Regions from separate parts of the Homo sapiens genome. Here all the other regions are linked to region 1. Evidence: promoter capture Hi-C in 16 types of primary human blood cells and fetal thymus (Javierre and others, 2016). All regions are on one chromosome and are shown on one strand. The core of a region is centred on a gene start or on the middle of the fragment in contact, and the rest is flanking DNA. Distances in the headings are between cores, read along the strand shown. Region 1 holds the start of ZRANB2 (zinc finger RANBP2-type containing 2). Region 2 overlaps TYW3 (tRNA-yW synthesizing protein 3 homolog). Region 3 overlaps SERBP1 (SERPINE1 mRNA binding protein 1). Region 4 overlaps CRYZ (crystallin zeta). Region 5 has its middle 22 kb from the start of ERICH3. Region 6 holds the start of ERICH3 (glutamate rich 3). Region 7 has its middle 7.1 kb from the start of GADD45A.

Evidence for each region. The method cuts DNA at HindIII sites, captures the fragments that hold promoters and counts their contacts. A CHiCAGO score of 5 or more calls a contact.
Region 2: a contact is called between a fragment that was not itself captured here and the fragment with the promoter of ZRANB2 in region 1, in 3 of 17 cell types (activated CD4 T cells, total CD4 T cells and total B cells). The highest score is 8.9, in activated CD4 T cells.
Region 3: a fragment that was not itself captured here is called in contact with the fragment with the promoter of ZRANB2 in region 1 in 4 of 17 cell types (total B cells, total CD8 T cells, total CD4 T cells and 1 more); the score reaches 10.6 in total B cells.
Region 4: a fragment that was not itself captured here is called in contact with the fragment with the promoter of ZRANB2 in region 1 in 8 of 17 cell types (activated CD4 T cells, total CD8 T cells, naive CD8 T cells and 5 more); the score reaches 15.4 in activated CD4 T cells.
Region 5: a contact is called between a fragment that was not itself captured here and the fragment with the promoter of ZRANB2 in region 1, in 9 of 17 cell types (total B cells, naive CD8 T cells, naive B cells and 6 more). The highest score is 29.8, in total B cells.
Region 6: the fragment with the promoter of ERICH3 here is called in contact with the fragment with the promoter of ZRANB2 in region 1 in 1 of 17 cell types (total B cells); the score reaches 6.3 in total B cells.
Region 7: a contact is called between a fragment that was not itself captured here and the fragment with the promoter of ZRANB2 in region 1, in 2 of 17 cell types (total CD8 T cells and activated CD4 T cells). The highest score is 7.3, in total CD8 T cells.

Annotation. Positions count from the first base shown.
Region 1 is chr1:71,079,080-71,083,461 of GRCh38, reverse strand. ZRANB2 (zinc finger RANBP2-type containing 2) reads left to right here and starts at 2,427. Exons shown (of 10, transcript NM_203350.3): 1 at 2,427-2,522. The coding sequence starts at 2,467. It overlaps ZRANB2-DT (ZRANB2 divergent transcript), which reads right to left and starts at 2,138. Exons shown (of 4, transcript NR_046217.1): 1 at 2,049-2,138. RefSeq lists an enhancer at 2,188-2,477. The HindIII fragment of the contact is 3,322 bases long and covers 1-2,572 here.
Region 2 is chr1:74,739,091-74,743,472 of GRCh38, reverse strand. The region is part of intron 3 of TYW3 (tRNA-yW synthesizing protein 3 homolog); the gene reads right to left. Among named protein-coding and RNA genes, the nearest start is that of TYW3, 8.1 kb to the right of the region's middle. The HindIII fragment of the contact is 1,566 bases long and covers 1,486-3,051 here.
Region 3 is chr1:67,417,132-67,421,513 of GRCh38, reverse strand. It overlaps SERBP1 (SERPINE1 mRNA binding protein 1), which reads left to right. Exons shown (of 8, transcript NM_001018069.2): 6 at 1,328-1,505. It also overlaps the pseudogene RNU6-387P. Among named protein-coding and RNA genes, the nearest start is that of SERBP1, 11 kb to the left of the region's middle. The HindIII fragment of the contact is 871 bases long and covers 1,610-2,480 here.
Region 4 is chr1:74,711,959-74,716,340 of GRCh38, reverse strand. It overlaps CRYZ (crystallin zeta), which reads left to right. Exons shown (of 9, transcript NM_001889.4): 5 at 1,711-1,762. Among named protein-coding and RNA genes, the nearest start is that of CRYZ, 19 kb to the left of the region's middle. The HindIII fragment of the contact is 355 bases long and covers 1,798-2,152 here.
Region 5 is chr1:74,693,347-74,697,728 of GRCh38, reverse strand. No RefSeq gene overlaps it. Among named protein-coding and RNA genes, the nearest start is that of ERICH3, 22 kb to the right of the region's middle. The HindIII fragment of the contact is 1,846 bases long and covers 863-2,708 here.
Region 6 is chr1:74,671,859-74,676,240 of GRCh38, reverse strand. It overlaps ERICH3 (glutamate rich 3), which reads left to right and starts at 2,449. Exons shown (of 15, transcript NM_001002912.5): 1 at 2,449-2,744. The coding sequence starts at 2,722. The HindIII fragment of the contact is 21,395 bases long and covers 1-4,382 here.
Region 7 is chr1:67,675,877-67,680,258 of GRCh38, reverse strand. No RefSeq gene overlaps it. Among named protein-coding and RNA genes, the nearest start is that of GADD45A, 7.1 kb to the left of the region's middle. The HindIII fragment of the contact is 964 bases long and covers 1,309-2,272 here.

The sequences.
Region 1 (4,382 bases), core at 1,178-3,677:
AACAGAAGCTCTGTTTTTATGGACAAAGGAAGTAGAAAAGGAGGCCTTTGTGGTCTGAAGAGTGTAGAGGGAATCCACATTTTTTCTCTCTCTTTTCTGTCACTGCTTTGTCTCAGAATCTGCCCTAGTCAGCTGCTATGCCAGGCTGCTAAAACTCCAAGAGGAACCTCATATTTCTGGTGAGAGGACCTTGCGAGACAAAAGGAGAAGAATGTAAGAGGAGAGAGCTAGAGAAGAGGATCCCCTAATTCTATGTATGAACCTATACAAGTTCTGTGTTCACACCTAAACTGAACACGTGCAGAACAAACACAAAATAGCATAGCAAAACTGAATTTCAATTTAAACTACTGCTAACATCCCCAAATAATCCCTGAGTATTGTAGGTATAGGACACAGCAAAGCCTTTGAAAACCCAGCTGACATGGAACCAGTACTCATAGAAGATGAGACCGAACTTTTGACCTGAACCAAATTGGATCGATTGCCTTCTAAAACAAAAAAAAATCAACATTCCCTAAAGGCTTTTAACAGGACTCAGTCTATGCAACATAATGTTCAAAATGTCCTAGATAAAATCCACAATTACACAGTATAAAAGAACTGGAAAAATGTGACCAACTTGCAAGGGAAAATATAATCAACACCTGCTAACTCCTAGATGACCAAAATGTTATAATACAGATTTTAAAGCAACAATCATAACTAGAGAGTAGTTGAACAATTTCTCTCCTAAACATAATCATACTTGCATAAAGACATTTCAGTCAATGATGAACCACATATACAAAGGTGGTCCCATAAGATTACAATACCATATTTTTACTGTACCTTTATATTTAGATACACAAATACCACTGCGTTACAACTGCCTACAGTATTTAGTACAATAAGATGTACTAAATGCAGGTTTGTAGTCTAGGAGCAATAGGCTATACCATATAGCCTAGGTGTGTAGTAGGCTATACCTGCTAGGCCTGTGTAAGCACATTCTATGATGTTCACACAACAGCACAATTGCCGAAAGTGGCATTTCTCAGAACATATCCCTATCATTAAGTGAGGCATGACTGTATATGCTGTATTCTAAAAAAAATTAATGCATTTATATACCAGAATCTATGCATAAGAATGCTCATACTGGTGTTGTTTGTAATACCAAGCCTGAGAAACAGAAGGAATAAACTGTCACAAAACCACAAAACGGAATAGTATCAGTATACATCAGTGCAAATAAAAGAATTACACCTATACACTTCTACATGCAACTACCTAGGATTAATTTAGAAGCATAATGAACAAAAAAAGAGTACAGAATCAACTATGCTTACACAGCTCATAAAATTAAACATACATGTATGTTAGGTTTTGAAGGGAAGGCAAGGATTAAAGAAAGAGAGGGTGGCTTAACAACAAATACAGGATTTATGTCCAGCATAAGACCTACAGAGGTGGGAGACCAGCTTAATGCCAGTGCCCGTTGCTTCTTACAGGCTGGGGTGATTTATAGGCCTGGGTGGGAGTGGTCTGGGGGGCCATGGCCTGCTTCCTGGGAACATGTTGATAAGGTGTTCCCAGGACGAGGCGGCTCTGGCCCTTGTTCCAGTGGAATGTGGTACTTTCTCCCAGCAGAGTATAAGAGGCAGCCTGTTTCTCACGCCCGAACCCCGTGGAATGTTTCACTTTGACTAAGGTCTGCAAAATGGCAGGGGGGCTTACAAAAATGGTGCAGTTTGGACTAACAACGTACATAAATTTTTAAAAAGCAAAAGAATAAATCCCAAATATGGGAAAGTGTTATCTGTGGAAGAAAGTAATGGGATGGTATCAGAAAAGACACTGGTAATTTAAACAGTGTTGACAATGTCTCAGTTTTAAAATTACCAGCTGGTTCCCATGTATAAGTTGCTTACTTATCTGTTACACCTATTTATGTATATATAAAAATAGGTTTCCAAACGACATCCCATGTGTATGAAATAACAGAATTTTTATGCCTTATTAAAATAATTTCTCTAAACACTTGAAGAGCCCGAGCCGCCTCTTACCCTAAACGAACCCCACGCCCCTGAATTGATCAGTCACTTCCGCCTCCACCTTTCCAGCTCCACCTAAGGAAGCGGAAGTACTTTACTCTTGGGTCCTCCCACCTGTAGGGGGCTCTCCGAGGCTTCTAGTGCCACGAAGGCCTCCTGCCTGGGTTGTCCTTATGGCGCCTGTGAGTTTAGTTCTAGAAAAGATATTTGTATTTTAACTTTTCCATCTAACAAACAGTAGCACAGGCATCTTAGTCTGGACAACAACGTACAAGCTGAATTCCTGGCTAGTTCCCTCATTATCAAACCCTGACACAGTAGTAGGCGCGAGTCAGGCAGTGTGGGGACAGCCCCGAGTTGCCGAAAGTCCCCGGCCCGTTTTCCTCCTGTGAAGACATAGCTGCGGGTGGCTGTGCTGGTGGCGTTCAAGATGTCGACCAAGAATTTCCGAGTCAGTGACGGGGACTGGATTTGCCCTGACAAAAAGTGAGTTCAAGAAGGGTCCTGAATTGGGACGGAGTTTGTTAGTGGAAGCTTTCCGAGGTCCGTCCGGCATTTTCCTTTTTTATGATTTTCTGTGCCTTAAGACGGGTTGAGGCGGCGAACCGCCAGTTCCCTGGCGGGAAGAAGGCTCCCAATCTCCTCACGAGAGAGGTCTTTCCGGGAGCCTTTGTTCTAGATATGTCTTCAGCGTTTCCTCGACATTACCTCCGCAAGGTAGCCTCTCTTTTTAGAGTGCGAGATGGCCTACCTTTTTGCCCCCACCCCCCTCCCCCGCCCCGGCCAGGTTTTAGCGATAGGAAACCTCTCCAGTCAGGCCAGCTTGGTGTTGGATCTCCCCCACGTGACTTTTCTCTGCAGAACTTTACTCTTGTTCACGGAAAATATTGCTTTCTCGCACTCGTCCTTTTGCCTCTTATAGTTCACCTTGTTTTGTATTTTTACTCAAACTTTTCCTCCATACTATTTTCCCCTTTTCCGGAAGCTCTACCCTCTTCGGTTTGGGAAATTCTGACATTTTCTTTGTGGATCATTTCTCCACAAGAATTGGGCTTTTCGCCTCCTTAGAGCCGAAAAGGAGGGAAGAGGCCTGTGTTTTTGCCTACTCAGCCCTTAAGATGCCTGCAGCAGAGAAGCACGTGTGTTAGTGGCTCTGCTTTTTGACATTGTTGCCAAAGCCAGTACTCGACTAGATAGTTAATCAGATTTTTTTTGAAGGGTGCACAAATAGGTGTATCTATTCGGAAATAACATGGAAAATAATTTAATGTACAACTCATGTTCACATAAAAGCCTTTTATTTGTTGTACCTAAGTTAGCCACAAATAGGTTTTGATTGTAAAAAGCAAAAACTTTGAAATAAACCTGGGTTTAGTTAAAATTCTATTACTTATTTAACTGCTAAAAAAGGAATAGAATTTTTTTTTTAATGAAAACATGAAATAACATGGATAGGGTGTGTAAACAGTGACGTGTAGCAAATTCTAATTGGTGGCTATTGATAGTAATTTGATATTAAGATGACCTGAAGGAGTAGTTCAAGCCTAACAAATGATACTGAATAGAACCAAAGTTATATGTTATGGATAGTATTGCTCTGAGTGGTAAGACATTATTGAAAACGTTCAAAAGATTTAGAACAACAACTTCTGACTTTGTTGTTACCTGTAAAATAATGTGCTTTTGTCAGTGTCTTTAATGACAGCACACCCAGAGGTAGGACTCTCAATGAGAGTTCATTTCAACTCATTTACAAATATATGAATAGAATGTTGTTTGTACAATATGTTTAAATGCAGGATAAATTTTCAGAGTATATTTTCCATGCTTAATGGAGTTAAAAGGAATATTTTTAGGGGAAAAACTTAACCTAAATATTATTTAGAGTGTTTCACTTTAGTGTCATCCCATACTTCACATCTGTATTGTATTCTAGTATAATGCCTTAAAAATCAGCTTTTTAAAGTTTAAGCATTCCATGTTATCCAGAGCATTTAACATACTTTTACCAATATACACGTACACTTCTAAGGTCATGTGAGTGAACCAGTAATTCTTTAGGTTTGAGTTTGTTGAGTATAAGCATAAAGTCTTACTGTACTACATGTGTTGAGATTATTGGTTTTGGTGGTTGTGTCATTTTTTTCAGCGAAGTCTCAGAGGTTTGAGAAATGCCCTGTAAAACTCAGTTTTCTTACAATTATTGAATCTTTTTGTATTTTTAGTCAGTACAACCTATCATATTTGGTTCCTTAGCATCCTACCTACTGCATGTAAAAAGATAATTTCATTAAGATCCATGAAGCCCTCCTTGATTTATAAGTTTTTTTCCTCATTGGTCCACCG
Region 2 (4,382 bases), core at 1,019-3,518, 3.7 Mb before region 1:
AACTGATCCTTAAAGATGAGTTTATTATCTAATCAGCTGCAGGTATCAGAAGAAAGCTCCAAAAGCAAGCCCTGGGCCCTGAAAAAATCTGGAGGCATTATTAAACCTGGCAACGTTGGTGTTCTATAATAGAGACCAAGAGGAACAGGCCCAAAAGGAAAAGCGAGATCCGAGAAAGGCTGCAGACTTAGTCATGGCCATCAGACAAACAAACCTTGATGGTTCAGAGAGGACATAAAATGGAGCAGGCCAATCACCCGGTGGGGCTTGTTACCAGTGTGGTTTGCAAGGACACCTTAAAAAAGATTGTCCAACGAGAAACAAGCTGCCCGCTTGTCCATGTCTGCTATGCCAGGGCAATCACTGGAAGGTGCACTGCCCCAGAGAACAAACGTTCTCTGAGCCAGAAGCCCCCAACCAGCTGACCCAACAACAGGACTCAGGGTGCCGGGGGCAAGTGCCAGCTCATGTCATCACCCTCACTGAGCCCTGGGCATGTTTAACCATTGAGGGCCAGGAAATTGACTTCCTCCTGGACACTGGTGTGGCTTTCTCAGTGTTAATCTCCTGTCTCAGGGAGTTGTCCTCAAGGTCCGTTACCATCCAAGGAATCCTGGGACAGCCTGTAACCAGGTATTTCTCCTACCTCCTCAGTTGTGATTGGGAGACTTTGTTACAGATAGTAAGTATGCTTATCTAATCCTACATGCCCATGCTGCAATATGGAAAGAAAGGGAGTTCCTAACCTCTGGGGGAACTCCCGTTAAATACCACAAGGAAATTATGGAGTTACTACACACAGTGTAAAAACCCAAGGAGGTGGCAGTCTTACATTGCCAAAGCCATCGGAAAGGTGAAGGAGAAAAGGCAGAAGGAAACCGTTGGGCAGATGCTGAGGCTAAAATTGCTGCCAGGCAGAACATCCCATTAGAAATACCTACGGAAGGACCCTTGGTATGGAACAACCCCCTCCAAGAGGTTAAGCTCCAGTATTCCCCAACCGAAACAGAGTGGGGACTTTCACGGGGGCATAGTTTTCTCCCCTCGGCGTGGTTAACGACAGAAGAAGGAAAGGTACTTATACCCAAAGCCAGCCAGTGGAAAATACTTAAAACCCTCCACGAAACTGTTCACATGGGTATTGAAAACACGCATCAAATGGCCAAATCCCTATTTACAGGGCCAAATCTCCTCCAGGCCATCCGACAGGTAGTCAAAGCCTGTGAGGGGTGTGCCAAAGGAATAATCCCTTAGTTCATCCTAAGGCCTCTTTTGGGGAACAAAGAGTAGGTCACTATCCCAGAGAGGACTGGCAATTAGACTTCACCCATATGCCTAAGTCAAAGGGATTTCAATACTTGTCGGTCTGTGTTGATACCTTTACAAATTGGATAGAAGCTTTCCCCTGCAAGACAGAGAAGGCTCAGGCAGTGATTAAAGTCCTAATTTATGAAATAATTCCTAGATTTGGGCTTCCCCAAAGCTTACAGAGCAACAATGATCTGGCTTTTAAAGCCATGATAACTCAGGGACATTTCCAGGGAGCTAGGGATACAATATCACCTTCACTGTGCCTGGAGGCCACAATCCTGAGGGAAGGTCGAGAAGGCAAATGAAACACTCAAGAGGCACTTAAGAAAACTAACACAAGAAACTCATCTCCCATGGCCTACTCTTTTGCCCATGGCCTTGTTGAGAATCCAAAATTGTCCTCACAAAATGGGGCTCAGTCCCTATGAAATGCTGTATGGAAGAACTTTTCTCACAAATGAACTCCTACTTGATCAGGAAATGGCCAACTTGGTCAAAAATATAACTTCTTTGGCAAAATATCAACGAAACCTTAAAAACCTACCTGAAGGATGTCACAGAGAAAAGGGAACAGAGTTGTTTCAACCAGGAGATCCAGTGTTAGTCAAATCTCTCCCCTCTACCTCCCCATCTATAGATTCTTTGTGGGAAGGACCATACTCGGTAATCCTCTCTACCCCCACTGCAGTTAAGATGGCAGGAGTGGAATCTTGGATTCACCACACCCCAGTTAAATTTTGGACACCCCCGGAGGAACCTGCGGGACCATCAGCTCAGGAGTCCCAAGATCAGCCAGACCAGCCTCGATACACCTGCGAACCATTGGAGGACTTGCATCTCCTATTTTGGAAGGAAACATCCCAGACTAAAAAGGCTCTTACCTCTGATCCTGAGGAAAAACCCATTCCTCCTTAAAAAATATAAGTGAAAACCTACATAATCTTTAACACCTCTCTTTACCCCTTTAATGGAATCCTTTTACTATTTCATCATATTTTCTAGCAGCATACTAACCATACTCTTTGTGATAGGACTATATACTGTAGCCAAACGAGCTCAACTAACAACTTCTACCGAGGACCCCTGGACGGACCCACTGGCCCTTTCACTGGTCTAAAGAGTTCCCCTCTGGAGGACACTACAACTGCAGGGCCCCTTCTTCACCCCTATCCAGCAGGAAGTAGCTAGAGCCGTCATCGCCAAATTCCCAGCAGCAGTTGAGGTGTCCTGTTTAGAGGGTGGATTGAGAGATGAAGCCAGCTGGACTTTCTGGGTCAAGTGGGGACTTGGAGAACTTTTCTGTCTAGCTAGAGGACTGCAAATGCACCAATCAGCACTCTGTAAAAACGCACCAATTAGCGCTCTGTGTGTAGCTAAAGGACTGTAAATGCACCAATCAGCACTCTGTAAAAATGCACCAATCAGCGCTCTGTGTCTAGCTAAAGGATTGTAAACGCACCAATCAGCACTCTGTAAAAATGCACCAATCAGCGCTCTGTGTCTAGCTAAAGGATTGTAAACGCACCAATCAGCACTCTGTAAAAACGCACCAATCAGCGCTCTATGTCTAGCTAAAGGATTGTAAATGCACCAATCTGCACTCTGTAAAATGGACCAATCAGCTGTCTGTAAAAGCGACCAATCAGCAGGATGTGGGTGGGGCCAAATAAGGGAATAAAAACTGTCCACCCGAGCCAGCAGCAGCAACCCACTTGAGTCCCCTTCCAAGCTGCAGAAGCTTTATTCTTTCACTCTTAATAAATCTTGCTGCTGCTCAGTCTTTGGGTCTGCATTACCATTATGAGCTGTTAACACTCACTGTGGAAGTCTGCGGCTTCATTTCTGAAATCAGCAAGACCACGAACCCACTGGGAGGAACAAACAACTCTGGACATGCCACCTTTAAGAGCTGTAACACTCACTGCGAAGGTCTGCAGCTTCACTCCTGAAGTCAGCAAGACCACGAACCCACTGGAAGGAAGAAACTCCGGACACATCTGAACATCTGAAGGAACAAACTCCGGACATACCATCTTTAAGAACTGTCACACTCACTGCGAGGGTCCACGGCTTCATTCTTGAAGTCAGCGAGACCAATAACCCACTGGAAGGAACCAATTCTGGACACACTTCAACTTCAGCACACCCCATCTGGATAAAGGCGACTACCATACAGCTAGGGGCTCCAGCCAGACCTAAGTAGTTATCCTTGATTCCTCTTTCTCCTCCTCCCTCTGGCTGTCCTTCCCCAGACAACCTTACAATTCTGTTGATTCAAATGCTGAAATACATATTGAATCTATTCCTTTCTCACCTGCTTTGGTGCTATCACCTTACACCAACCTATCACCACAAACTACTCCTAACTCGTATCTTTTCACTTACTGCACTCCTTTCTCTATGCTGAAGCAGAACTGAGTTTTTCAGAACAAAAACCTAGAAAGCCACTCTTTGCTTAAAACTGTCCCTTCAATAACTTTTCCCTGAACTCAGAAAGAAATTCAAACTCTTTAATCTGGTCTACAAAGCCTTAAATGACCTGGCCCCAGCCTCCTTCTGGCACCTTCTTTCCACTCTCTAGACCCACTGAAACTTTGTATATACTTTTCCATCTTCATGGAATGTTCATTTCCCAGCTACATGCCTAGCTCTTTCTGTTCCTTTAAGTCTTAGCTTAAAGAAAGCTTTTCAGAGAAGCCTATCTTCAAGTGAGCTGCTTTTTGCACTGTTCTCTATTACCAGGTTGTTTTTTCCTTCGGTAGAACATTTTGCAACTTGCAGTTTGTTTTTTGTTTTTTTGCCAGTTCACTTGTTTGTTTTTGCTGTCTCCTAACTTTGGAAGAGGAACCAAGACAGTCTTTAATCTTGTTCATCACTGTGCCCCTAGTACTTGACACACTGAGACTCAATACATTATTGTTGCTTAAAATGCAATTCAGTTTTATATATAAATATATAAAAGGTATAAAAAGGAGAATCAAGACTAAACAGATGTTTACCTCATGCATGCTCATTTAAATGGGAAAAATGAAATATTCTTTAAAACTCTTAATTTTACATGTAGTTCCACA
Region 3 (4,382 bases), core at 796-3,295, 3.7 Mb after region 1:
TATCCATCACATTAGAACTGTCTGTAATCTTATTCCAGACTAGGGGAGAATCTGGGCATAGCATATGGAAGTATAAATTTAAGAAACACAACATTGGCTGACTTTGATGAACTAACTTATATATAGCTTCCAGAGCTTCTGTTTGGTTTTTATTTAATCCTTGCAGTAATTCCTGAAAGGTAGGTGTCATGCCTCCATGATATGATAAAAGGTATGCTAAGTTCTATTCCTGGCTGTGTCATAACATATGGGTAAGCAGGACTTTTTTTATATTCTTAGATTTCTCATCTGTAAAATGACTAGGTGGACTCAGTACCCAAGATCCCAAGATCCTGTCAATTCAATATAAACTTGCTCTAGGAAGTTTTTTGTTTTTTTTTTGCAGCATAGATGTAACTGGAGGAACTTTTAAGATAGCATTTGTCAAACAGTAAAGGGCAGCATCCAGGGAGATATTTGAGCTCTAAGGCTAACTGAATCACCTGCTATCTTTGGAAAGAAGCAGGGCTCCCCAAATAGCAAATGACTTGTTTGGTGACAATTGCAGATTGAGATTATACTAAAATAATGGATCCTTAGGCCTGTGCTTTGTTTCTGTAAAAAGAGGAAAGGATCATATTCTATAGTTAAGACCTGAGAATTATATTTGGAAATAAATGGTTTAGTATTAAATAATGAAACCAGTGTGTGTTTGTGGATAGTTCTATTAGTAGTGAATCCATGGCCTCCTTTCCATATACAGGTTGGTTTGAAAATTGGAGTATAAGGATTTTAGGATTTGTAGAAACACGGCTATTGTTTTGATTTGCTCTAAGTGCTAGTTGCTGAAACAAAGCATAGAGGAACAGTTCTTTTATATTCCAAAATTTGAACCCTGGTTGCTGACAGACATCCTAGAGGATTACCTTCTTGTATGTTATTAAGAGTTACATATTGTGGGAATTATGGAAATTAAAAATGTGGTTTAGGAGAAGATAGGCTGAGGATTTTACATAAGAGGGTAGTTTTTAAACAAGGTAGTGTTTTTAAGAAATGTGTATTTTAGTATTCGTAAAGCCAGTTCTAGATTGTATTACTGATAAATGATCATTTAAGAGTTCATAAGTATGAATTCCATATTCCTTACTTGTCTCTAATTAGCAAACACTGAATTCCTGGTCTCTACCAAGTTGCTTAGTTACATAGGAAACTAGGGTACCCTCATCCTTGAATAATCTTTCTCTAAAAGATTACAAGGTTAATTTTCTCAATTAAAATCATAAATTTAAAATACTTTTATGTAATATCAGCTCTCTACCAGGTATAAAACTTGAAAACCTTTTCACAGGGAGAATGAAGTTGAAGAGGTAAAAGAGGAGGGTCCAAAAGAGATGACTTTGGATGAGTGGAAGGCTATTCAAAATAAGGACCGGGCAAAAGTAGAATTTAATATCCGAAAACCAAATGAAGGTGCTGATGGGCAGTGGAAGAAGGGATTTGTTCTTCATAAATCAAAGAGTGAAGAGGTAAAATTAAGTTTTGTCGTGTTTGAAAATGTTCAGATGTGACTTGAATTGTATTTATAATTTTTGTTTTAAAATTTCACATGGGTTATTTGTCTGTTAAAGCTTTACATAGGATCATTTGGGGCAGATAATTTGCTTTATAAGGAAAATAAACTGTATTATCACATATTCTAAGAAATTTAGTCCTTTGATCAATTTGTAATTATGTTTTATGTGGTAGAGTTACTTTTTCCTAAAAAGCTGTTAGTGGAGTATCTTGTAGTTATTGGTGTTCAGAAATATGATAGTTCTTTTCAAAGTTGTGGTTGTATTTTTGAAATCTTGCCAAACTGGGGATCATTAAAGGGCTGTGGTATTATGGTGTTAGGTTGAAATCTTGACATTTTCATATGGTTTAACCTAAAATGTAAGTGACTTCATTTAGAATTCAACTTTTGAAACTGTCTGCCTATACCATATATAATGGCCAGGACACTCAGTAAATGGCAATGTGCATTTTGTCTAAGGAATGACGACTTTAAAAACCAAAGTATATGTGGGTTTTACTTAAGAAACATGGAAACTAGTGAAAATACAGTTGACTTGTTGAACAACATGAGGATGCTAGGGGCACTGACCCCGCAGATCAATGCACATGTAACCTTTGACTCTCCCAAAACTTAACTACTAATAACCTGTTGACTGAAAGTCTTAGTGATAACATAACCAGTTAACACATTTTGTATGTTGCGTATTATATACTGTGTTTTTACAGTAAAGTAAGCTAAAGAAAATGTTGAGAAAATATATTTACTGTTCATTAAGTGGAACTGGATCATCACAAAGGTCTTTATTTTGGATAGGAAGAAAAGGGATTGGGCTTGCTTGTCTCAAGACTGACAGAGGCAGAATGTTCAAAGCCACGTTGTTCAAGGGTCAACTGTATTGGAGAAAGTCACATTGATGGCTTTTGATTTGGTAGCTTCCGTTTAAGCTTTGGGGTGTGTTCTTAGAGGAATGTTTCAGTGCGGCTTCCTGTTTGGCTTTAAAAACTCATACAAGCCCTAACTATATTATTTCTTCTCCTAAATTCATTTTCTCTATCAGCTTCCTTTAACCTTTTGACATTTGTGTTTGATTTATTCATATCATAAATTGGGCTGTGCCAGAAATCCAGACTGAGTTTTATCATCCTAAGGTAAAGTTAAATTAAAATATTGTGAGGGCAAACCCTTTCAATAAGGTATTAGTTATTTTTATTTTTTTTTTTTGAGACAGAATCTGGCTCTGTCGCCCAGGCTGGAATGCAGTGGCACCATCTCTGCTTACCGCAACCTCCACCTCCCGGATTCAAACAGTTCTTGTGTCTCAACCTCCTCAGTAGCTGGGATTACGGACACTCGCCACCATGCCCGGATAATGTTTGTGTTTTTAGTAGAGATGAGGTTTCATCATGTTGGCCAGGCTGGTCTCAAACTCCTGGCCTCAGTGATCCCCGCCTGCCTCAGCCTCCCAAAGTGCTGGGATTATAGGCGTGTGCCACCATGCCCAGCCAATAAGCATAATTTTTTAAACTGCAAAATGGCTATAAGACAAACTTGGAAACATTTTAAAATAAAATGGAGGTTAAAAAGATTAAAAGTTTTTTTAGGTTTAGAGATGATTTTTAACATTTACTTCATATGAGTAGTAAATGAGGACATTGTCTTTTTTAAGTCCTGTAGAAAAAAAACTGCATTAGAACACGTGGTTTCAGCCAGGCGCAGTGGCTCACACCTGTAATCCCAGCACTTTTGGGAGACTGAGGCGGGCGGATCACCTGAGGTCGGGAGTTCAAGACCAGTCTGACCAACATGGAGAAACCCCGTCTCTACTAAAGATACAAAATTAGCCTGGTGTGGTGGTGCATGCCTGTAATCCCAGCTACTCAGGAGGCTGAGGCAGGAGAATCACTTTAACACAGGAGGCAGAGGTTGCAGTGAGCTGAGATCACACCACTGCACTCCAGCCTGGGCAACAGAGCAAGACTGTCTCAAAAAAAAAAAAAAAAAAAAAAAACAACACTTTAACTTTCACATGTCTTCATTCTCGTGACAAATGTGAGGTAGTTAAGGGGAAGGAAGAAACTATTTACAAATGGAGAACTGTGTTACCGTGTTATTGACAGAGCTCAGAGTTTCTGTTTTCTGCTCCTCATTGTCTGAGTGCTCTAGAAAAAAGGTCGGACACAGTGGCTTACACCTGTAATCCCAGCACTTCGGGAGGCTGAGGTGGGCAGATTGTTGAGTTAAAAGTTTGAGACCAGCCTGGGTAACATGGCAAAACCCTGTTTCTACAAAAAATATAAAAATTATCTGGATGTGGTTGCGTGCACCTGTGGTCTCAGTTACCTGGGAGGCTGAGGCGGGAGAGGATCACTTGAGCCCAGGAGGCAGAGGTTGCAGTGAGCCAAGATAGCATCACTGCATTCCAACCTAGTTGACAGAGCAAGACTGTTTCAAAAAAAGGAAAAAAGAAAAAAAAAAAGGATCCCCCTGCCCTGACTTTATCCCAGTACAGTTTCTTGGTATCTGCAGGGGATTCGTTCCAGGACCCAGAGATATTAAAATTTTCAGATGCTCATGTCCATTATATAAAATGGCATAGTATCTGCATATAGCCTAAACACGTTTTCCCTATACTTTATTTTTTATTGTTTCTATTTTTTAATTTAAAATATAGAACAATTTACAGTTTTGCGTGTCATCCTTGTGGGGATCATGCTAATAATCTTTGTATTGTTCCACTTTTAGTATATATGCTGCCAAAGTGAGCACTCCCTCATACACTTTATTTTGAGACAAGGTCTTGCTCTGTCATGTAGGCTGGAATGCAGTAGCATGGTCACAGCTTACTGCA
Region 4 (4,382 bases), core at 726-3,225, 3.6 Mb before region 1:
AACGGGATGTGTGTCTGTCTGTCTATCTATCAGTCAATCATCTATCTATTTGATCTTCTATTTGATCTGATCTATCATTTATCTCTATATAAATTCCTTAAGAATCAGTCACTCTGTACACATACACACACACACACACACACGCGCACACAGATTGATTGATTTTAAAGAGTTGACCCATGAAATTGTGGAGGACTGGTGAGTCTAAAATCTGTTGCGGTGGGCCAGCAGATGGGAGACACAAGGAAGAGGTGCAGTTTAAGTCCATAGAAAGTTTGCTGGCTGAATTTACTCTTGCTCATCGGAGGTCAGTCTTTGAAAACAAAAGCCTTCAACTGATTGGATGAGGCCCACCCACATTCTAGAGGGTCATCTGCTTTACTCAAAATCCAGCTATTCCATTGTTAATCTCATTCGAAAAAAAAAAAAAAACACTGTTTCTGTAACAGAGTAATGTTGGAACAAATATTGGGTTCCTTGGCCCAGTCAAGTTGACACATAAAATTAACTGTCACAGCGACTCTGTGCAAGGATTCAGGAGGGGATTTGCCTGCTTTTTCTCCCCTCACCCCAGGCCCCAGGGATTTATGAGAATGTGTCTTTAGTGTTTGAGGGGCATCTTATAAGAATTTTTGAAAAATTTCTTTGGGAGGTATTTCATATCCCATAGTTTAACACTAGTCATCCTATCCCCTTATGTTTATGTTTTACTTTAACATATTGTCCTCAGTCCCTTCAGCTCTAAGCAAGAGTGTGGGAGAAAGCTTCACTTATTGCTCATTGTTGCCACTTCTCAGCTGTTGGTGCATAGCTGGGAGCAGGACTCTGGTTACTGTTCTCTTTCCCAGGTGGAGCATAATGTTCTATAATGTCTCTGCAGTGTGGCCACCCCACATTGTTTGAGGAAGTAAGAGAGCCTTCCTGAGAGTCAGATCTGGATCTCACAGCATCTGCTGGCTTTTGACATTGGCACCGTCCATCTGGAATAGTGAGGCATCCCCTCATGCCTTGCTGCATGTCCCTTCTTTTCAGTACATACTAGAAAAGTAGTCATGTGAACTGGAAGTAAAAAGAAAATGCCATTTCACCAGAGAATCTGGACATTTCAGGGGGATGACATGGGAATCTTTGTGATAGAATTTATTGCATTTCCTACTCTCTGACCTTTGCTAACTCAGCATTCCTCCCTGAAAGAGTACAAGGCTGGTGCAACCTGATGTTCAGAGACATGGAGAAGAAAAATTTCTTTCTTTCCTTGGGCAAAAAAAATAGCTACTGTGTTTACTTGGACATTACTCTAGACCACAGAATAAAGACTGAGCTATATAATAAACCTGCTTTGAGGCCCTTTCTGTGGGGGATATATGGGAATGAGAGATTCCAGATCCTCCAGGCTCAGCAATTTTACTTCACAACCCACAAGGACTGTAGCCACTCAGAAGTAGCACCACATAGTCATCCCAGTGTCCAGCAGCATAGTGCCTGGAACATAAAGACTCCCAATAAATATTTGTTCAAGGAATAAATGAATTGAAGGCTTTGTTTATTCTGTGGAGCTTAGGGAATATTTGGGGCTGTATGTCAGGTTGCATTTGCTGTTTGTGTAAGTGTTAGCCAGACTAGGGGTAGAAATTCCTTAAGATGATGAAAACACCCGAGATTAATTAGCTTCAAAAAATAAGGTGATGTAACTTATGCTTTCCTTTGCAGTGCCTGTGTGAAAGCTGGAGAGAGTGTTCTGGTTCATGGGGCAAGTGGAGGAGTAAGTATTTTTTTTAATGTATTTTGAAACAAGCTTGGGTTTATGGGTTTCACATTATAGTTCCTTTGGTCATTTTTAAAAGTCAGATTTATAAATAGAGTCAAAGGTGCTTTTTTTCTTTATGTAGTAAAACTTTTGATTTTGGTCTTCTGAAGGTGATGTTTTGTCATTAGTTTAGCATTTCTTGGTTAATAAACTCAACAGAGCACCCCTTCAAAAATATGTTAGATTTTCCACCTGTATTGGGTGTAGACTAAGATAAACTGGCCTTGTTTTTGCCTTCAAGTAGCATATGTTATAAAAATATTTATTTAGAATTTTAAACAGTTCTTTAAGGTTGATATTAATTCCATATTCCCTTAGATAAGGAAACTAAGGCTCATTAAAGCTTACCTATGTTGCCCCAGACAGCACGGTAAAGCCACACTGTGAATTCTTAGTCCTTCTATCTCCCTTCTGCTGCTTGCCTGCTGCACTTTGATGACATCCATGGAGTGCACGTATACAGCCCTGTCCTTAACACCACAACCCATGGCTGAAAATGCTAATGTGGGGGAATGGGGGAGGAGGACTCAGAACTTAAAATAAGCCCTTCAATGAAATCACCCAATGCAGGGCTGTCAGAAACCTCTTCGAGAAACTAGCTGCCAATCTGCCTCTCAGGAGCTTAGAGGGAAAAGTTAGAGCTCTGCAGTTAGAATTTAACAAGAAATCCACATGAACTCTGTCACTGGATGCTTTGGAAATTTTGGAGATAAGATTTTGCATTTTAAAAATAAAAGGCCTGGGGCTAGATGCTTACTTTGAGGAGGCTGTTAACCATTTCAGAGCACTGTGTATTCTGGAGAGTGGATTGAAAGAAGTAACCTATTAAATGGCACATAGTCCCCTGAATAATGAGTGGTATCCTGAAAATGTGAATTTACCTTTAAAAGTGCCCAGGTAATTTCAGTCCTTTTTGTCTCTCTGTTTCTTTAGGTAGATGAATCACGAGGTTTCACACCTAGCTTCCTACACTTCAAATAGATCAATTCTAAAGGATTTCACAGATCAAACAATTTATGAAAAAACACTAGGATTGTCTTTATGGGGCTTGAGACAATATGACAGATATACCTTGTCCAAAACTCCCACTGTTTAACTTCACTGAAGAGGCTATTTTTGGGTTAAATTAAATTTAACCCTAAGTAACTAAAGGGTCTGTCAAACACATACATTTATTTAAATTACCCTGGCTTTCAGAGAGCTAACTTAGTGCTCTGTGCAGAAGGGAAAGATTTCAGTAGGAAGGGGAGAGAAGAGTTTAAAGAAAATCTCTTTATATTCCCTTTACCCTCTTGTAAAAAGCCCAGTTGCTTCACCATGATTTTTTTTTAAGGTAAAATCCACACTGTTCTCTGAGCTGGCTGAGTTTGTTAAATCCTCAGCTGGCAGGGATAGGCTGGTGACCTGGTGTGTGAAGTGCTTCTGATCCTCCCTGTCCTATCAGAGGGAAACAGTACTGGGTTTTGCCTTGCTTCTGTTTGTACTTTCTGTCCTCATTTAATTCGAATTCCTTTGGGATTATGTTGTGTGTTTAAAATGGTGTGGAATTTATGAACACAGCTATTATCCAGATATGTTGGTGAGGAGTGCCCTATTTTAGTGTTAGCAAAATAAGTAGAAGAAAAATAGTTGACACATAATGGTGCATAATCTGTTGAAGGATCATTGCTGGTATAATTGTTGACAAGAATAGAATAAACAGTGCCTTTTTAAAAGAGCTATTGAGTGCCCTTTTAAAGCAGTTAGAACACAAGGAGATGTAGTTACGTTAGCTTTTTAAAGTGTGGTTTTATTAGAGGTCTTTTATTTAAATTTGAAAATTAAAATAGAAAATTAATTGTGCCCACCCCATAGTGGGTTGTGTTTTATCTAATTGGATGTCTCTCTCCTCCATCAGACAGTGAGTTTCATGTATTTGTTTGTTTCAGTTAAACAAATTCCTGCCATAACCTGGCTGAGTCCAGCCTCGTTATTCCCATGTGCCATACAATCTTTAAGGTCCACTTCAGGCCTGGAAGTCTGTTACAGCTTTAATCTGTTTCTATCATTATTTTTCATCTTAATTCTTTTCTTGCCGAACCCGGTCCTCCCTGTAAATCACTGGTTATGAGTAGCGGGTGATTTTGCATCATTTCTCCTTCCGCTCTGGGACATTTGGCAATGTCTGAAGACATATTTGGTTGTCACAACTTGGGGAAGGGGTTCTGGCATCTAGAGAGTAGATATCCTTCAATACATGGGATAGTCTCCCACAGCAAATAATTATCTGGCCCAAAATGTTGATAGTGCCAAGTTTGGGAAACTCTGCTCTAAATGTATGTGACACTTATTTGTACCATCATTTGTCATCTAATCAGATATATTTCCTAGTATTGTTATTTAAGTAATTGCTCTTTTGTCTATATTCTTAAATTACTTTGATTTCTCTTTTATACTAAGCACATTTATCTGGTATTCTAGTGATTTCTTACAATCCCAGCATTTTGGGAGGCTGGGATTTTGCCAGGTTGCCCAGGCTGGTATCGAATTCCTGACCCCAGGTGATCCACTCACCTCAGCCTCCCAAAGTGCTGGG
Region 5 (4,382 bases), core at 536-3,035, 3.6 Mb before region 1:
TCATTAGAGAGGGAGGAAATCAGGTTCTAGGGCAGAGCTTCCAGAGCTTCCAGATGGTGTTTAAATTAACCTCTGAAATACATTTGTGGGTGGGGCACAGTGGCTCACACCTGTAATCCCAGCACTTCAGGAGGCTGAGGCGAGCGGATCACGGGGTCAGGAGATTGAGAACATCCTGGCTAACACAGTGAAACCCTGTCTCTACTAAAAATACAAAAAAAAAAAAAAAATTAGCCAGGCATGGTGGCATGTGCCTGTAGTCCCAGCTACTCAGGAGGCTGAGGCAGGAGAATCACTTGAACCTGGGAGAAGGAGGTTGCAGTGAGCTGAGATCATGCCACTGCACTCCAGCCTGGGTGACAGAGCGAGACTCCATCTCAAAAAAAAAAAAAAAATGTTGTGGATATTAAAATCATGTTCTTAGTCCATTTGGGCTGTTATAACAAAGTCCCTTAGACTGGGTGGCTTCTAAACAACAGAGATTTATTCCTAACAGTTCTGGAAGCTGGGAAATACGAGATCAAGGGTCCGACAGATTCAGTGTCTGGCAAGGATGTGCTTTCTGGTTCATGGATGGTGCCTTCTCATTGTGTCCTCACATGGTGGAAGGGCAGAGCTAGCTCTCTGGGTACTCATGACCTAATCACCTCCCAAAGACCCCACCTCCTAGTACCATCACCTTGGCGCTAGGTGCTTGTACCTGTAAATTTGGGGGGCATGCAAACATTCAGACTGTATCAATCATTTTCCCTCATTTCAATTTTCCCTGCTCTTTGACCTCATTCAGTCCCTCTCTTCATTTGATCTTTCATTGCCAATCTCAGTCCAAAGGCCCTAAGCAGCTCTCACATCCCACCAAGCTTAAGTTGGTCACTAAAGTACCCTCAATTATCTTGAATCACCATCCTTCTTCAAAAGTCACTCATTGAAACCTAGCCCTGGATGGAACTTGTAATCTACCTTCAACTTCCAGCTTTTTCACTACTTCGTATATTGTAGATGTAGCCAATCATAAGGAGCAGGTGCTGTTCTGCCTCCCCCTCCAATTTGCCCTTCAAACCCAGCACTCTCCTGCCTCTAGTTCTGCTCATGCCATTTATTTCCATTTATTACCTTTTCTCTGAGTAAATTTGAAAATTAATCATTTGATTAGTTTTAGGATGATCTGTGTATGTCTTTGTGTGCAGTATTTAGAAGATGAGATAGGCATCTTTCCCCTTGGAAGGTTAGTGAAATGTGGGAGCAGCTATTCATCAGATGTCACTCCAGTCATGATGGAAAGGGAATTGCTATAAACCTCACAATAGACAAAAAGATGGACTAGGTAAAACTCGTGCAGTTGCTTATCAGGAGGAATGAATATTTTCATTTTAATTTTAACTTTTTTTGCCCTAGAATTTAAGCAACTTGAGATGATGGATAAGACCTAGCATACCCCAGGCACTCAAGTTTGATGAGTGAAAGATTATAACAGGCCAGGTTTTCCTACCTGTACAATTTTCTCTCTCAGGATTAATATGTCACTGATCATTAGAGAAATCCAAAGCAAAACCACAATGAGATACCATCTCACACCAGTCAGAGGCTGACACGGGTGGATAACATGAGATCAGGAGTTCAAGACCAGCCTGGTCAACATGGTGAAACCCCGTCTCCACTAAAAATACAAAAAATTTGCTGGGCGTGGTGGCGGATGCCTGTAATCCCAGCTACTCAGGAGGCTGAGGCAGGAGAATCGCATGAACCCGAGAGGTGGAGGTTGCAGTGAGTCAAGATCACACCACTGCACTCTAGTCTGGCAACAGAGCAAGACTCCTTCCCCCACCCCCCCCCCCAAAAAAAAAGTCAAAAGATAACAGATGCTGGTGAGGTTGTGGAGAAAGGGAATGCTTATACAGTGTTGGTGGGAGTGTAGATCAGTTCAACCTTTGTGGAAGACAGTATGGTGATTCCTCAAAGACCTAAAGATAGAAATATCATTTGACCCAGCAATCCCATTACTGGGTATATACCTAAAGGAATATAAATCATTCCATTATAGACACATGCACACATATGTTTACTGCAGCACTATTCACAATAAGCAAAGATGTGGAATCAACCTAAATGCTCATCAATGATAGAATGGATAAAGAAAATGTGGTACATATACACCACAGAATACTGTGCATCTATAAAAAAGAATGAGATCATGTCCTTTGCAGGGACATGGATGGAGCTGGAGGCCATTATCCTTAGCAAACTAACATAAGATCAGAAAACCAAATACCACACGTTCTCCCTTATAAGTGGGAGTTAATAATAAGAACACATGGACACAGAGGGGAACAACACACACTGGGGCTTGTCAGAGTATGGAGGGTGGGAGGAGGGAGAGGGTCAGAAAAAATAATGGGAACTAGGCTCAATACCTGGGCAATGAAATAATCTGTACAACAAACCTGTAGGACATAAGTTTACCTATGTAACAAACCTGCACATATACCCCTGAACTTTAAATAAAAGTTAATATATTTGTGTATGTATGTGTGTGTATATATATACATACATATGTATGTATACACATTTAATCTGAAATTTAAATTGTATCACAGAAGAACACACAGAGGTGTATATATACATGTTTGTACATTAACTGTAAAGTAGAAATTTGACATTTGACATTTGGATCAAGTATGAAAAAGCTGGTTTTATGTGCAATCAAAGCTTAGCTCTGGGCACCTGCCATCTTACTTCAAAGTAAAGCTTATTTTTGATTATTCAGAGAAAAAAAGGAATTAAAAAATAAGTAAAACCAATCTATTAAAAATTATTTTTGTTTATTATTTTATTTAGGTGAAACAAGAATCTACTTCTTTTACCCTTTTTCAATTTTTTACCTTTAAAACTTTTAACAGCCTAACTCACATTCTAAATACTGAAAGTGCATAACATAGGTCAGTGTTAATTTTTTAAATGTCAATTCAACTTAGTAGAAAAAAGCAATTGATGTGTTTCAGTAATAACTTCCACTTGTTTTAACTTGTTATGTTAGCACTTGCAATTCTGTTTAATTGGCATGTAATTTAATTGCCACATAAGTTATTTAATTATATACTACAAATGGGAAAAGTTGTTTATAGGCAATCATATCTCTTTTGTTAAAATCTGGAATACTAGATGTTCGTCAGTCTTGTGCTTATAGGTAATTCCTTCATGCTGATTATTTGCATTGCCTGATTGAGTTATATCACATATTAACTCATTCTGTCATTGTTTCTAGAGGGGTGTATATTTATATTTTAGTAACAAATTCAGACAGTTAAATTTCAATCTACTTTATTATTAAAGACAAAGGCACTAAGACCTGTGTTTCTCTCTTCATGGAAATTACAATATCACAATAATTCACAGATGTTATTTCTTCAGGCCAGGATGCCTTACTCTCTCTCCTTTCTTTGCCTAATTTCAGTATATTACTTTTGAAGGTTTACCGTAGGTGTTACTTTTACTTAGAAGGCTTTTCTGACCTCACTAATGATCAGGTGGCTTTTCTCTGTGTTCCTTTCAGTACCGTAACAATATAGGATGAGACAGAACTAGGGTATAGTCTTTATTTTTCAGTAGTGTGGCAACCTTGGACTCTAGCAGGATATCCTTGGAAAGCCTCAGGTTTTTTTGGTTGTAAATCAGGGATAATAGTTACTTATTTGATTGTTATGAAAGATATATTAAACAAACCTTATTATGTTTTTGCCTGATGCCTGGCACATAGAAAAGATTTGAAAAATCTAGCCGCCTTCTACTTAATGTTCAATAAATAAAGATTGAATGAATTAATGGATTACAATTATTTATTGACATTTGACTCCCACTGTTCTGTTCATTTATTCAGGAATGGGTCTGTGATCTTTTGCCTCACATAAGATAGAAAATAGTACTTTCCTCATAGTAAGTGGTTGACAAGTTGTAAAAACCTTTTGCTTTTCCATCTGACTAAATCTTCCATAAATGTTTCAAGTAAATATTACTCATTTAACAAGTATTTGTTAAACCCTTACTCTGAGCCAGACATTGTTCTGCAGGTAGGTTATACTTCAGTGACAAATACTCTGGTTTCATGGAATTTGCATTTCAATGGAGAAAGACTGACAATAAGCAGATAGACAGGCAAGTACACTGTCCAGCGACGAGAAGAGCTACAAAGAAACATGAAATAGAGCAAGGGGTCAAGAGAATATCAGGAGCAGTTGCTATTTTTATGCAGCATAGTCAGGAAAGATGATATTTGAACAGGAGACCTAAAGGAAATGAGGAAGTCAGTCCTGTGGACAGATATCCGGATACAGAGCTTTCCAGGCAGAAGGAATAACAAGTATAAGAAATCTGCTTTGGGAGGCCGA
Region 6 (4,382 bases), core at 1,200-3,699, 3.6 Mb before region 1:
CCCTGACTCTCACTCCACAGGTCTTTCTATAAAACTGAAATCTTTTTATAAATTTATGATACTTCTGGGGACATCTGGGGACTTTTTTTTTCCTATGAGAAAGTGAAAAGGACTCCAGTGACTATTTGGTCTTGAAACAGTTTAATTTAGTTTTTTTCTTTATTCCCTTTCCCTATCTCCATTCTAGAAATTAACATAGAAACTCATTCTGGCTAAATTCCCAATACATTTTCACAGTGAGCATTTTCTGAAGTGAAAATTAGTAGCTTCCTTGCAGTTTTCATCAGGAATGTGAAATTGTGGAGCTCACAGGGGTGGAGAACTCAAACCCCATTTATGAATTAATACATGCTGTTGAGGGTACCTCACTGTCTGCAGAGTGCTGGCGAATCTTTTCTACAGAATCCTGAGTATCTAAATAGTATATTTTAATTTCCCTTCTCATTGAACCAGTGAGAAAATACCATTTTCTATTTGCAAAAATGAATTTTGTAACAACTAGTATCTATATAAGATTACATTATTTACACCATCCTTAGGGATTGGCAGCACCTGGGGCAAGTTACAGTGTATCTTTCTAGTTCCTCCTCCTCCTTCCCCAGTCCCGATTTTTATCCAGGTGAAATCTAGTTACAGTGAGCATTAAGGGCAACCTCAAATGGAAACCAATGTTAGTGGGGATAGACATACGGTAGGGGACACGGGGAGATGACCTCTGCCTTAGTCTAGCTCTGGCCAGTTGGGCTCTGAAGCAGCCTTGAATCCTTCAGTCTCAGGACCTAAGCTATTGGGCTAGCATCATATTTTTTTTTTTTTCTTGGAATGGCTCTGGTCACTCAGGTCCAAAACCTGTAATGGTATAGAATATCTGGCTTCTCTGGCAATTTATAGGGGCCACGGAAAAGTAAATCAACTTGTAATTGTTAAAGGCATTTGTAGGCTGAAATCAGATAGATCTGGATTTGAATCCTAGTTTTTCCCATTGGAAGCCACTGTAGATGTCAGAAAAAATAACTAATTTCTTTATGTATTAGTTTTGATAGCTATGAAATGGAGAAAAAAACCTGTCTCATAAAATGAAGATGAGGATTAAATGAGATAGTAAATGCTCAATAAAAGGCTGAGGAGAGCATTTAGTAACAACTCGTTACAAATGCCACCACTCAAGAGTTTCCTTTTTTCCCTTCACTCATGCTGCAAACATTTATTAAACTGTTGCTTCCTTCTGAGAATATAGAAAAATGGAATAGATGTACAAAATGAAATGGAGGAGCTTGCATTTGAGTAGAAAAGGCAGCATCTACTTCAGCAAGTGTTATACAGGGGGTAAGCACAAAACAGGCATATCCCAGCCGAGTGGCCCCCTGAGGCCAGAGTCATTAGCACACCTGAGGATGTCAAAGAGGAAGTGTTTAAGCTAAGTGTTACAGGATGAATAGAAGTTTTCCAAGTAGTCAAGGGTGAAAGTATGTTTCCACTAGAGGGATAGCGCAAGAGTTTGGTTTTGCTAGAGTTTAAGGTAGTGGAGAAAGTGGTCACACAGGCTCGGGAAAGACACTGGGGCCAGGTGATGAGGGCCCCTGAATGTCACACTAAGGAGTTTGAACTCTGTCATACTCAGTGGGTCTTTACCACGTGAGGAAAAGCAGAATGACGTTAATGAGGTGATGCTCTTCCCACCTCTAAATGTGGCTGACCCAGAATAGAGACCCTAGAAAGCTCAGTCACCACTGATGCGTCCAACCCTTCACTTATACATGAGGAACCTGAGGCCAGAGATCAAGTCATTCTGCAAAACACCTGACCAAGCATGAACAAAACAAGAATAGGTTATCTAAGTCTAGTGCTTAAACTTCCTCCACATTCAGATCCTCCTTTAAATCCAGGCTGCTTCATCTAAGCCCTGCATTCCATGTACTGGATTCCAATGTAAGTACTGTTTCTGGGTGCTTTACTGAATAACTGCGTCTCCCCCATCTTCTGAAAGCCAGCTCTGTCAGCCCTGCCCACTGGAAGTGGGGACCTCAGCTAGGAAGAAGGATAGGGGTTTTCCAAGGAGAAAATGAGTCGATTGTAATGCCTTACAGATGCAGAAACAAATTCAAAACCCAAAACAGATTGAGAGACGTCCTTCTTTCCCTCAAATTTGCAATCGCTGTTTTAGCACTGGAAACCACCGCATCACGCAGTAGCTGCTCCCTGCTCTTATTACCCTCAGCCGCTACCCAGTCCTTCCTTCCCCAGGGCCTAGCAGGAAGCACGCCAGCCAAAATGTGTGGGTGTGCCTGTGTGTGTGCACGAGTGTGTTTGTGTTTTCATGTTACAGATACCTGGGGAACTCGCGCCCTAGAGCAACAGAGCAGGGGCTTGCTTGGGTCTCCTCCCTATCAGGGCCCAGAAAAAGGGGTAGAAGCTGGCTTCACTTCCAGCTTCCGCAGGCTCGGTTCCAGTAGCGCCTCCGCTTCTCCAGACCCTGGGCGCTTGCCTCTCTCCTCCCTTAGCAACAGGGAAGCTGTGGATACCAACGGAGGGTGGGAGCCCGGGAGGCTGCGGGTAGCCCGGGCGCCCAGGGGCGGCGGCGGCCCAGCCCAGGTGCCCGCGCACAGGGGACCTCGGTGCGGAGCCACCCCTCGAGCGCGACTGTCGCAGCGCCAGCGCGCACGGGGCCCCACGCACCCACCCTCCGCACCTGCCGCGGGGTCCAAAAGGGATCCTGCAAAAATGAGCCATTCTCACCCCGCTGGGTAAGTGACAACTGGAGCTTTTCCACGCTGTGGCAGGTGGCGGCTTCAGCCAGCTGCCCCTCCTCCTCCCTCCTGCTGCGGAGGGAAGGGGCGAGAGGGGAGCGAGGGGGAGGGCTGGGGAGAGGAAAATATATACGAATTCTGGGTTGCAGCGAGGATGGCAGAAATCCCAGGCATCATGTCTCCTCCCTCCCCTTCTTCGTTTCTTTCACCCACGTTCGCCCCTTTTGAAATTTTCACCCTGGAAGGATTAAAAAATGGAAGTGAAAAACGCATACATTAAGCAAGGACCTTCGCTGGGATCAAGAAGATCCTGTGGTGTGGAACATGTGTGTTTAGATGCAAAAGAAGAGGTTACCAAAATAAGAATTCGTTTGGAGATTTGAGAATGAGAGATGCATTCTCACCTTAGCTTACATATAAGCGAGGTGTGAGTTCATTCAGTATTGAAAGATGTTTCATTGGGAAAAGGGGGTATTATTTCAGGGATTTTTTTCTGCCCAATCTCAAAAGGACCATAAGGGTCTTTAAAAAGTATTTTAATAAAGGAAGGTTATATGGCACAGGAAAAGAGAGGGAGGAGTTGTGTGCCTGTGTATTTACTCATGATCTTCAGTTGCTTTAGGTAGGTGAACCCCTTAGATAACCTATTTTGGCAATTTTCAATGTATTCTAGAAAGAACACCGTCATTATTGGCTGTTGCAAAAAAAAAAAGTTTCTTTTTTTATTGGAAGGGAGAATATCCAATTTCCTCCTGAATTAAACAATGTAATGCATATTAGACGATTTTTTATTATGATACATCTAGTAAGAAGATAAATATCCTAGTCAATCTTGCAATTAAATTGAAGGCACTTTCCTTTTTAATTGCATTTATTGCACATTTTTAGGAGCAGCAAATTAGCAGAGGACAACATATTTGAGATCATTTGGAGTTTGTGATGTTTGAAGTACCACATTAGTCGTTGTGTTGGAACTTATACCCAAACTTCAAGATTTTACTTTTTAATGAATTCTCTGAGTGTAATGGCGTAAATGAAAATGTTTGAAAAAACTAAAGCCATATAAGGTGCCACGTTGGAAATCAGTTTCAGAACTTTTAGAAAAGTGATATAGCTATGATTACATAAACTTTTTGTTTTATCTCAAGTTGAATTTAATTTAGGTACTTTTTAACATTTTGATGCTGAACTCCTGTGCAATTTTTAGTTATCTGTGGGTCATGTAAGATGCTACGTAAGATGCAAATAGCACTATTTTTCAGCAGCTGATGTTTGCAGTATGTTTGCATTTGGGAAAATAAATATGTCAGTCATGGTTGTCTTCCTATGTTTTTCAAGTTTTTGGCTAGTTAGAATCTGATTAGACCATTTAATAATCTATTTTAAAATGTGAGAAAAATGTAGCTATTGATTAAACTGTGCATGATTAAGATTTCAGAAACTGAAGTCAAATTTTTCTGAAGTTCCATTAGTTCCAAGCCTATGGGGAAAAGGGAAATTTGTGATTTAATGCAAGAGTATGTTTCATGGTACTCTTCAGGAAAGGTGTTAAGATGGCAACAAATACTTTGCACTTAAATGGTAAGCTCCTGAAAAGTAGGCACCATATTGTATTAATTTCTCTGATCCCTTCAC
Region 7 (4,382 bases), core at 541-3,040, 3.4 Mb after region 1:
AATTCCTTAACCCAAAGTTATCAATGGCTTTTCTTTTTACTCAGAGAAAAACCCCTAGTCCTTACTATGGCTTAAAATACCATATAAAATCTGTGCCCATGATGAAAATGTCCTAATATTGACAATGGTGACAATTGTACAAATCAGTTAATATAGTAAAACCCATTGAATAAAATATTTAGGGTGTGTACAGAATGTGAATTATATCAATAAAGCTGTTATAAAAATCTGATCCCTACAGCAATCTTATCTTACACTGTTCCCCCCATGCTCATTTCTCTCTAGCCATATTGGACTTCCTTTTGCCTCAGGGCCTTTGTGCTGACTGTAAGCTTGGAATGTTTTTTCTCCTGATACCACATTGCTCATTGCCTTCCAGCCCCCTTCCTAATGAGCCATACCCTGCTCACTCTAGTTGAGTTGCAATACCTCTACTCCCTGGCACCACTAATCTCTTAAATCCTGTTTTTTTAAAAGATCATGTCACAATCACCTTCAAACATATATATTTTACTTATATATATTGTTTGTTATCTGATTCTCCTCCTGCCCACTCCACTATCCAAAAATATGGGGTAGAATTTTGTTTTGTTCACTGATTGGTCCCTAAGTGACTAGAACAGTGCCTTATACAGAGTGGACTCTTAATAAATATTTGTTTTGTGGTTTTTTTTTTTTTTTGAGATGGAGTCTCACTCTGTCGCCCAAGCTGGAGTCCAGTGGCGTGATCTCGGCTCACTGCAAGATCCGCCACCTCCCAGGTTCACGCCATTCTCCTGCCTCAGCCTCCCGAGTAGCTGGGACTACAGGTGCCCGCCACCATGCCTTGCTAATTTTTTTTGTATTTTTAGTAGAGATGGGGTTTCACCATGTTAGCCAGGATGGTCTCGATCTCCTGACCTCATGATCCACCAATAAATATTTGTTAAATCAGATATTATTGAATGAATAAGGTACACAGATTTTAATATATAATTGATGAATTAGAACATAAGAGTTATATAATTTGTTGTCTTTTTTGTATATTAGAAAGGAAGGTGTCTTGATCAAATACTGTTTTGGGGCTTGTATTTTTTTTTCAGTCCTCCAAGACATCAGAAAACTACTTGTATTGTTTTAGTTACAGAGGATTGTGCACCCTTATCTGCATTCATATTATTCTCATAGTTCCTCCACCCCCGTCCAACTGTTTTTCTTATAATTTTTTCAGGGGTTATAAACTGGCCCATTTTGTAAGCTAAGGATTTTGACCTGTACTGTATACACATATAATACCCAATAGATTAAAAGGTGCTTAATTGCCAAGCTTCAAGTCTTGTTCTTTCAATGTAGCACAAAGAGATTATAATGATGAGGAAAACAACTCTGAAAGGTTTTATGAAGGTCAGTTTTGAAGTGGGAGATTTGAAAGCAAAGATGGGTTATGTTGCGGAAGCAACATACAAGAAACACAATTGGAGATGAAATTAAGGAAATAAAGTAGTATTTAGGAGACTGAGAATGAAAGAAAAAGAAATAAAAGAGAATAAGAGCATTCTTTACTACTATTTGAACTTCTACCTCTCTCTCTGGCTTTAGTGCTTGTAAGCATTTAATCCTGATTAACTGGAAATTTCTGCCAGTAAAACTTATTCTTTGAAATAGCTTATAAGTTTTTTTTGTTCTTTGAATAATATGCATTCTTTTATTTTGGTTTGGTCCTCATGTACTTTGGCAATAAAATGTCAGTCTCAAAGTCTGGAAGATATTAAATATTAAAACAAGATCATTTAGGATCAAGCTCTGTAAGACTGTGATGTTTTGAAGAGGGTCTGGGACATGGTCTTTTGGAGTGCTCATTTCTGTATAGCTGGTCTTAGATGTGGGCCACAGCCATGTTTGTGTGACAGTAGTCTTTCTGGCTCCCATGAGACTTTGTATGTAAAGGTCCAAAGTAGCCTCATTTTCAGTAACCAAAGAATGTAGTGAATAGTCTGCTATCTGGCTATCCATTATGAACACTTTACTTCTGTGCTTTGTGGACCATATCAGTTTGTGGCAAAGTGATGGATTGTGTTTAACATTCTGTTGTTGACCTGTAAGGATTTTTGCCATATGTTCCAGCTCATTCCCTTAAGATATAGGAGGGGGCAATCTTATTAGTATCATTGTCCACTAAGCAGAAATGTGTCAGAGATTTTGCTTTCTCAGCTGGAGACTCCCTCTTGGCAAGCCGTCCTCCCTATTTTAGGAAAGCATCGCCATCAAATACAAGAAGGCCAGTTTATAAGCTTATTTGTTTATATTGTATATCTGGTCTGTATTTATGGAAGTTTTGAAATGATGCTGTAAAATTAAGAACTATGTGGCTACTTTGCAGACATAGTAACAATAATAAATCTAATGTGATGTCCCTCCAAGAATGTGGCTTGAATGATAGAATCTTTAGCAGGTTGTTTACCCTCGCCATTCCTCAGTTTCCTCATTTGACAAATATTTGTGAACTCTTTTTAATTTTGAAAAGAACTCCCTTTCCCCAAAATCCACAGTAGGCATAATCCCCACATATAGATAGATAAAAGTGGAAGTGTTGTGGCTGCAGTAGCCGGATAGCAGTGGGGGTGAAGGGCAGGGATTGGCAAGTTTAGGCTCCCCCTCACTCCCCTCCTGCAATACACCCCATAGCCTCTGAGCCATGCATATTGGTCACAATGGGAAATGTCTGGTTCCCTAAGACCCTTCCAGCTCTAACATTTTTTACTTAATAATTTTATTATTCTATAATTACTCTATATTTTTCGCAGTCACTGAGAAACCTCAAATACCTTACCTTACCACAAAAAAAGTTATTTTTCTGGGCCTTAAAAATTCAATCACCAGATAATGTGTCTAAAGAATTTAAAAAACATTCATGTTCCTCTGCTTTGATATCAATTTTCAAACATTTCAATCTGTTTCCATAGGTCAGTTGAAGTTATGTTACAACTTGCCTTATTAACCTTAATTTATTGTCTGGTTACCAAATGCTATGGAGTATGATTTGGCACTGTGTCTTAATAAACAGGTCACACCTGGGAGCTAGTGAGACCTCTCCCATCTGAGAAGAAGGAGCTACAACAGATGGTAAAACGACTGAAAACCAGGTGGGGTCACTGTTTAATGACCATCTGAATTAAGTTTGGTTAATTTGGCGTGTCCCTAATTATCCCTAGCAACTGGACCCTCTACTCCATTTTATAAGTTTGGATTTATATCTTTTATGTAAACTATCAAAACAAGTCCATCTGTGATCCTGAAGCTGTATTTGCCTTAAATCTAACCACAGGGGAAATCCTAATTTATTTGGTTCTAGCTATGAGGAGTCCTTAAACACTGGGTTTTTACAGTGCTCTGCAATTTACTTTTTCTCAGGTTGTCACCTATGATATGAGCATTGCCCTTCATTCTTCTCCAAGTTTAATGAAAAGACACTTAGCATAATTTCCAAAACTCAGACATGTCAAAACTTCAACCTATGTGCATCCCTTTAGAAGATTTTCTCATGAAATCTGTGTGCAGCAGTGAGTTGGCTTCCAGAGATGTTTAGAAAATTCAGAAGTTATGCTGTCCTCAACACTATAATAGATTCAAGGCCTGCCAGCTCCTTTAAAGACACTTCCTCCCCTACCCCCACCAGACCTTATTTTAGTTTGTTTATTTGTTTTTGTTTGTTTGTTTTAGGCAGGGTCTCCCTCTGTCACCCAGGCTGGAGTGCAGTGGCGCAATCTCAGTTCACTGCAGCCTCCAACTCCCAGGCTCAAGTGATCCTCCCCTAGGCTTTATTTATTAGTAAGAATATTAATTTGTGCTGGGATGGTGGCTTGCGACTATAATCCCAGCTACTCAGGGGGCTGAGGAGGGAGGATCACTTGAGACCATGACATCATGTAAACCAGGAGTCCAAGACCAGCCTGGGCAACACAGTGAGACCTCCATCTCTAAAAAAATTAAAATAAATTTTTAAAATATAAAAAGAAGAAAAAATACTAATTTGCTAAATGCTTATCATGCTTAGCACTATGGTAAATTTTTATTTACATGATGTCACTAAGCCCTCACAACAATCTATGAGATAGATACTATTATCTTCATTTTATTGCTAAGTAAGCTGTAGCCTACTGGAGAGGTTAAACTAGTTACTAACTCAAAAGACCCCTAGCTAAATGGCCAGGGCAAGATGCAAATGCACATCTGTGGGACTGCAAATCTCACATTCTTAACCACATATTATGCTTCTCTAGAACAGCTGTGGTTCACGTGGCATCAGAGTGTAGTGTTCAGAATGCAGACTCTGGAATCAGGCTTGGGCAAGCCATCTAAGCTCTTTTGCCTCTTTTCTGACAAACGCTGTCTCTTAAACTTAT